Linked DNA regions of Homo sapiens: region 1 is linked to region 2. Evidence: promoter capture Hi-C in human tissues and cell types (Jung and others, 2019). All regions are on one chromosome and are shown on one strand. The core of a region is centred on a gene start or on the middle of the fragment in contact, and the rest is flanking DNA. Distances in the headings are between cores, read along the strand shown.

Evidence for each region. Contacts are between HindIII fragments. The study calls those that stand out against the background at their distance.
Region 1: a fragment that was not itself captured here is called in contact with the fragment with the promoter of RCAN1 in region 2 in 1 of the 25 tissues and cell types used here (dorsolateral prefrontal cortex).

Annotation. Positions count from the first base shown.
Region 1 is chr21:34,112,817-34,116,986 of GRCh38, reverse strand. The region is part of intron 1 of MRPS6 (mitochondrial ribosomal protein S6); the gene reads right to left. Among named protein-coding and RNA genes, the nearest start is that of SLC5A3, 41 kb to the right of the region's middle. The HindIII fragment of the contact is 5,215 bases long and covers 1-4,170 here.
Region 2 is chr21:34,613,432-34,617,582 of GRCh38, reverse strand. It overlaps RCAN1 (regulator of calcineurin 1), which reads left to right and starts at 2,470. Exons shown (of 4, transcript NM_004414.7): 1 at 2,470-2,823. The coding sequence starts at 2,572. RefSeq lists silencers at 2,236-2,665, 2,856-2,955. The HindIII fragment of the contact is 10,572 bases long and covers 1-4,151 here.

The sequences.
Region 1 (4,170 bases), core at 670-3,169, 500 kb after region 2:
TCTGAAAGGTCGGAAGGTTCTGCAGAGCCCCAGGGGAGAAGAGCTGAAGGCAGCTGTTCTATAACCCTGAGGCAGAGGCCAAGGAGTAGGTACAAGGGAGTGTAGGGGAATTTATCTTAAAGAGGCTTGTTTACTTATGCTGACCAGGAACTGATCTTTGATCATCCTCTCGCATGAGGTTCTCTGAAAGGGGGGCAATAAATGTTAATTACCTACAGGTTGTGTTTGCTCCATGTTTTCAGCATTGTGCCGGCACTGAATAAAACCAAGCAGCTCCAGCTTCTTGGGGCTGCTCTGGCCACTAGAGCCAGGCAGTCAACTAGCTGCTCTTACACTGCATACCTGTGTCTGAGTACTCATTTCATCCGTAGCCAGGGTCTGCAGGACACACCCAGCATTCTAGGAATTTAAGCAAACTACCATACCCATGTACCAGACTTAGCTATGAAAAATGCTCATCATAAAGTTATTAGGATAGTGAATGAATGGAAATCTTATTGCCCAATGGAGACTGGTTCAATAAACGATTTCCACTGATTGAATAAGTACGATACAACCATTTAAAAATCCACCAAGATTTCAGAAATCACCACTAAAGAACTTATTAATGTAACCAAACACCACCTGTTCCCAAAAACACCTATAGAAATTAAAAAAAAAAAAAAAAACATGGATGATTGAGAGGCTGAAGCAGGCAGATCGCTTGAGCCCAGGAGTTCGAGACCAGCCTGAGCAACATGGTTAAATCCCATCTCTACAAAACACACATACACACACACACACACACACACACACACACACACACACAAAATTAGCTGGGCATGGTGGGACACACCTGTAGACCCAGCTACTCAGGAAGCTAAGATAGGAGGATTGCTTGAGGCTAGGGAAGATGAGGCTGCAGTGAGCCATGACTGTGGCACCACACTCCATCCTGGGTAACAGAGTGAAACCCTGTCGGGGTTGGGATGGGGTATGATCCTTACATACTGGCATAAAAACATTTTAATAATAAAATAAAATCAGCATGGAGAGTACATCCATGTATCTTCCAAAAAAAAAAAAAGGACTATGTAGACAAACATGGAAAAAAGAACGGATGACTATGCAAGGTATTAGTCTTCCCTAGGTAGCAAAACAAGTGGAGTATTCCATTTTTTTTTCTTTTACACTCTGATTTACGATGAGCAATTAAAACGTGTTTCAGTGACAAACTTCTTTTGCAACAAATTCAATTTTTCCTTTAAAGAATTTCTTCTCCCAAGTCTATCCCAACCGCTATCTTGCCACAGATACCATAATTTGTAAATTCTGTCTTCAAGTCCCAGATCTACACTTGGACACTGAAAACTCATTCACTGACTCCGTGTCCATCCAGGCTTTTAACAATATAGTAATAATCAGAGAGGTATAAACAGGTGGCTTCCAGAGGTTACTGAAAGAGTCTTGCAAGCTGGTACTTCCAGCATCATTAATTATTACAACTGGTTACTCTGTCTCTTGGGGAATGAGAGGAAAAACTGGAATCCAGAAGTACTGGTCCCAGAATCAGAGTGCACCAAAAAGACGTGATAGGACAAGACCAAGTCTGGCCCTGACACCACAGTGGTCAATGAAGCCAAGGGATGTGGAAACAGGAGCCTGCCCATTCTATGGCCATGCAGCCAGGAATAAGACTCTTGAGACCTGGGAAATCCAACATTAAGAAGTACTCTTTGGGCAATGTGATGAAAACAAAAAGAACTCAGAGAAGAATGGAGGTTAAAAAGAAAACAGGAGCAAGAAGCCAATGACTGGTCCAGTAACTGATCTGAGTTCAGCACACATTAATCCTGGGCCAAAACGAAGGACCCAAGAACAAGGCAGAGGCATTGTTATCTTCTCAGTGAGATAATGCATGGCTGAATTTGCAAACGTAAAAAGCAGATGACTGAGGAGTAAAGCAACTTGAGCTGCAAGGTAGGCAAAATGCCTTTAAGTCATAAACTACACTTACCCATCCAAGGGGCCCCTGCACCAAGTGCCTGCTAAGCCATCAATACCAGCATTGGAATCAAAAGGCTATGAGCGAATAAATTTAAAAAATGAACCCACTGAGCAGAAGGGAAGACATAATTATAGGAGATCCAACCTTGTGTGAACTTACTAGTTGTCAGCTATATATTAGTTAGTCATGTGCCTTGGTTAACATTAATCTCTAGTTCAATAATAATGTACCTTTGTTCCTTAATCAACTAATTTCTGAGGTTTCAAATCAAAGAATATCATTCAGATGTCATTCATTTAAGGACAAATTTGGGGGCTCACTTGCATATAATCAATCATTCCTTTCATGATTTGGGTAAGTCAAAGGAAAAGGGCAGAAATCACCAAGGTATTTCTCAGCACTTGAATCACCTGGGAGCTTTAAAAATAAAGGTGTCTGCATCTTACCCTCAGATATTTCAATTCAATTGGCTTAAGGATTCAAAAATCCTGGACACTAAGATTTTTTTAAAGCTCCCCAGGTGCAAACAAATGTGAGAACCGCACTCTAGTAGGAAGCTAGCTGGCTTCTCATCCTCCCAAAGATGAATGACTCTGGCTGAATTGCAGTTTGTAAAAGATTTTAAGCAATGATCTTCTCCAACACTAATTTAAGGAACATAAAAGTTTCACTCTTTCTCACCAATAATATTGGAGTCTTGTCTGAATGTGAAATGGAAAAATGACAACCCCAGTGGGTGACTATTTGTGGTAAATACTACTGCATCAGCTAGAAACAATGCCAAAATGAAGGTACCCTACTTGCTATTCTAAGGACATTTTAAAGTCCATGATCCTCTTGCTGAGAGGTTTCCATTTCTATACTCCCCATCCCCCTTCAGATGCACTCACAGATAAAAGATAAACGGGAAGACTGGCAGGAGTCCTGGTTACTATGACAGCAAGTAAAGGAAATGCCTAAGCTTGTGAAATGGATAGTGGGAGCAGGAATCAGGTAGGCATTACTGAGCCACCTGCCTTATTGATTGCATGCCTTCATGCACAATTCAGTTCCCTGCCTTCGCCTTATATTTCAACCTCTTCACAGGGTAGAAGGGAGACAGCACTGGAGTGACAAGAAAACCAGGGGAGGGAACAGTCAACCAAAGATTTAGATGGTAGAGACAAAAGGTTTATAAGAAAATGAATCTTCTACATATCCATGTAAGGTTTAGCAAAAATATCACCTGGTGGACTGGGTTAAGAGAAGTTCTTAAAATCATACATTCCTAGAATGACAAACATGGACTTTGACAAAAAAGTCAGATTTGCATAATTTGCTCAACAACAGACAAAAAGCATGTCCATCAACTAGGCCAACTGCAGTGATGCTTAAATTCAAGTGGTGGGAGGAAGGCACCTGATGGACTGCTCTATTCTGTAGAGCAGGGAAGAGAAAGGACACAAACACAAAGGAATTATAGGAATAAAAACATGCATCAAGATTCAGCTACTTTTTCAGATGCCACATATGAGGGAAATCATATGTTGTCTTTCTGTGTCTGGCTTATTTCACTTCACATAATGTCCTCTAGGCTCATCCATGTTGTTGCACAGGATTTCCTTTTTTATGGCTGAAGAGTATTCTATTGTGTATGTATGCCATACTTTATCCATTCATCCACTGATGGACACTTAGGTTGATCCACATCTCAGCTATTGTGAATAGTGTTGCAACGAACACAGGAATACAGACACCTCTTCGATGCTGATTTTATTCCATTTATCCAGTAGTAAGACTGCTGGATCATATGGTCATCCTATTTTTAATATTTTGAGAAATCTCCATACTGTTTGCCACAATGGCTGTACTAATTTATTCCCACCAACGGTGTGCAACAGTTCCTTTTCTCCATATCCTCGTCAACATTTGTATTTTGTCTTTTTCATAATAGCCATCCTGACAGACATGAGGTGATATCTCAATGTGGTTTTTTGTTGTTGTTGTTGTTCATTTGTTTGTTTTTGATAGAGACAGGGTTTCACCATGTTGGCCAGCCTGGTCTCAAACTCCTGACGTCAAGCGATCCACCCACCTCAGCCTCCCAAAGTGCTGGATTATAGGAATGAGCCACCGCACCCACAAAACCCTCAGTGGTTTTGTGTTTCTCTGAATTATGTTAAATGAAATAAGACAGGCAAAGA
Region 2 (4,151 bases), core at 1,221-3,720:
CTACCTTCTCTCTCTGTGGATTTGCCTATTCTGAACATTTCATATAAATGGAATAACATGTGGCCTTTTGTGACTGCCTTCTTCCACTTAGCATAATGTTTTCAAGATTCCTCCATGTTGTGGCATGTTATCAGCATTTCATTCCTTTTTAGGGCTGGAAAATATTCCATTGTATGGATATACTCCTGGTTTGTCCATTCTTCAACTGGTGAACATTTGGGCTGTTTCCACTCTTTGGCTATTTTGAATAATGATGCTATGAGCTTTTGTGTACAGATTATTGTGTGGGCATATGTTTTCACTTCTTTCTTTCTTTTTTTTTTTTTTAGACTGAGTTTTTGCTTTTGTTGTCCAAGCTGGAGTGCAGTGGCGTGATCTCAGCTCACTGCAACCTCTGCCTCCGGGGTTCAAAAGATTCTCTTGCCTCAGCCTCCCGAGTAGCGGGGATTACAAGCATGTGCCACCACGCCCAGCTAATTTTGTATTTTTAGTAGAGACGGGGTTTCTCCATGTTGGTCAGGCTGGTCTGGAACTCCCAACCTCAGGTGATCTGCCCGCCTTGGCCTTCCAAATTGTTGGGATTACAGGCGTGAGCCATGGCTCCCGGCCGTTTTCATTTCTTTTAAGTATATACCTAGGAGAGGAATTGCTGGGTCATATGGTCACTCTACATAGAACTTTTTGAGGACTTGCCAAATTGTTTTCCAAAGTGGCTGCGCCATTTTACATGCCCATCAGCAATATATTGTGAACCCTGAAAATTTGAGACAGGTCTCAATTAATTTAGAAAGTTTATTTTGCCAAGGTTGAGGGCATGCCCATGACAGGCCTCAGGAAGTCCTGAGGACATGTACCCAAGGTGATCAAGGCACAGCTTGGTTTTATACATGTTAGGGAGACATGAGACATCAATGAATGTATGTAAGCAGTACATTGGTTTGGTCTGGAGAGGCAGGACAACTTGAAGCAAAGGCAGGAAGACTACTGCAAAGGCAGGAGGCAGGAGGGAGCTTCCAGGTCACAGATAGGTGATAGACAAACGGTTACACTCTTTGGGTTTCTGATTAGTCTTTATAAAGGAGGCAAATCTGTCTCGGTGAAATGCATCTGTCTCAGTGAGCAGAGGGGTGACTTTGAATGGAATGGGAGGCTGGTTGGCTCTAAGCAACTTCCAGCTTTAGTTTTCCTTAGTGATTTTGGGGGCCCAAGATTTCCCTTTCACAGTATGACGGTTCCAATTTCTTCACATCCTCATATCATATTCTATTTTATGAGTTATCTCTAGATGGGTATTATTATTCCTCTTGGGTTTAGCTCCCTGAGGACACAAACTGTCCTAAGACTATGATAATAGTAATCATAGAACCGTGCACATGGCAAGTTCTGAATAAATCTCAGCTGTTGGATATACTTTTTGTTATAATTACTAACACTTCCTAACTAGAGAGTAAGCCTACTCTAAGAAAAAATATAACTGTAATTTCACAACCTCCAAAGAACCCAGTGCATAAACAGCTACCATTTATTAAGCACTGACTGAATTCTTAGTAATATGTCTTCATTTTTTTCAGATGAGGAAACTAAGATTCAGCTTATTTGTACAAGTAGTTAAAAAGCAAAGCTGAAATTCAGACCCAAGTTCTCACTGTATCATACTGTCCAAAAAAGAATTCTATTTTTCAGGAAGAGACATGTCTGCTCACTTGAGGTCCTCTTATTTTTCCGCTATTCCCCAAAGGAAAGGGGTGATCTCTTAATTCTTTCGTTATGTCCTATTGTACATAGCATATAATGGTAATTCAGAAAAATTACTTCTAATTACATAAATTTTCACAATGGTATAGTGACTAATACGCTGAAATAGAAAAGTAAGGCATTGTTATCATGGTCTAGTTCAGTCTTTATTGCGACTATATCTGATAATATACGGTAAGCATCTAACCACTTGCCAGGGGCCACAGAGCCACAGGGAGACTATGTCTCGCTTAAATTCCCAAAAGTGGGCCCCTGTGCTTCAAAACGTCCCCGCATGGGAACCACAAAAACGTTGCCTCCCCAGTTATCACCCCAAGGGCCCAAGAGCCGAGGACTCTGCCCGGCGTCCTTCAGCTGGCACCAGCTGTCAGAAAAGCGGAACTGGGGACGAGGACTTTGCCCCTAACCAACATGGCCGCCCTGAGGCTTCGGGCTTCGGGCGGCAGAAGGAAGGTCACGTGAAGAGAATTCCGTTCCTTTATTGGCCCCGTCTCCTGGAAGGGCGGGGTACAATAACCCAACCGGCGCCGGCCTTAAAGGGGCCACCGTTGGATCTGCCGGTGGCCGGCCCTAGGGGCTGGGGGGGCGGTCGCCGCGCCGGGCTTCTGCCCCTCCCGCGCGGAACGGTGACGGGCGGGGCTGGCGCTGGGAGGCCGTGTCGCTGGGAGACTGCTGACAGCCCGCCGCCTGCCGCCGCGCGATTCCGAGGGGGTTAACGGCGGAGCCGCCGGCCGGGCGCGGACCGGAGCGCGTGAGGCTCCGGCGCGCAAGCCCGGAGCAGCCCGCTGGGGCGCACAGGGTCGCGCGGGCGCGGGGATGGAGGACGGCGTGGCCGGTCCCCAGCTCGGGGCCGCGGCGGAGGCGGCGGAGGCGGCCGAGGCGCGAGCGCGGCCCGGGGTGACGCTGCGGCCCTTCGCGCCCCTCTCGGGGGCGGCCGAGGCGGACGAGGGCGGCGGCGACTGGAGCTTCATTGACTGCGAGATGGAGGAGGTGGACCTGCAGGACCTGCCCAGCGCCACCATCGCCTGTCACCTGGACCCGCGCGTGTTCGTGGACGGCCTGTGCCGGGTGAGGACCGCGCCGGGCGGGCCGTCGGGGCGGAGGGCGGACACTTGTTGCCCGAGGAGGCGGCGCGGGTCGCAGCGCCCAGTCCCGGCCGCGCGCGGGGCGGGGAGGCAGCGACGTCCCCCGGGCTGCTCGGCCGCGGACCCGTCAGGGCTGGGGCGTGGGGACGGCGCCCCGAGGGTCCCGGTCCCCTAGCACCCCCGGGGCGCGCGGAGCTCACTGCAGAGTCCCACAGGCTCGCCCCGGCCCCCGTGTGCGCCCAGGCTGGTGCGACTAGGGGGGTGAATTCGCTCCCCAAGGTGGGGCAGCGCCGCCGCCCCCTGCGCTCTCGCCATCGCCCCGCATTTACTCGCTGGAGGAGGGGGTCACCTCATTCCTAGGGAGGAGGAAACAGACATTGAGCGGCGACGTGACTCAGTGTTCATAAATAGGACGACGTCCCTGCATTCCCAATCTGCACTATTGGAAGAAAAGCCAATGTTTGGGTGAGGATCCGTGGTTGCTCATTAGCCAGCGGCTGGCCAGTTTTGGTGGAATTGTGTTGGGGGGAAGGGGACCATCTTTCAGACCTTTAGGATATTTAGTCAAGAACCTTGCCCCCTTGTGTGAAGGTGTGGCTTGCCGCCATCGGGGACACCCAGTACATGGGGAGTCGACTCCTTCCCCCGCCTCCCCCCACCCCCGCAAAATCCACACAATTTAGACACTTTGGAGGGTGAGGGGCAGGTATGAGTAATCAATAATGGTGGTGGGGAGGAAGAATTTATTTCAAATCTGCAGTTATTGTGCAGAATAAAATGTGGACAACGTGGGCGTCACAGAATGAAACCGGTCTTTGAGAGATGCCCCATTAGGAGAGCAGCTGTCAAAAAAAGCAGTGCTTTCAGCGCTTGGCTGTGGGTCCACAAATGCTGTCAATGAACTATAGTTGAAGGCTGCTGCCAATACAACACCACTGTGAAACAGAATGGTGTATGTAAGTGTCATTTATTTATAATTTATATGTTCACTTACTTTCTGAAAGGAATTACAATGGCCGTGTGCTTAGGTAAGCTTCCAGGCATGCTTTCTAGAGCAGCAATTGTCAGGAACTCAGGGTCTTACTGATTGATCTTACTCTAAAACCTTTTCCTCTCCATATAAACTAAGCGCTAGCCAGCATTTCAGACCTTTTCCTTAGGAGTTCTAGGCTGTCTTTCTGCTAGAACAAGGTCAAGTCACGTAAGACGGCACTTACTTGTAGTGTTGGAGACAATTTTTTCCAGTGTTGGATACAATCCTGAAATTGTGTTGTATGAAAGTTTGCCCACTTCGCTAGCTATTCATTTTAA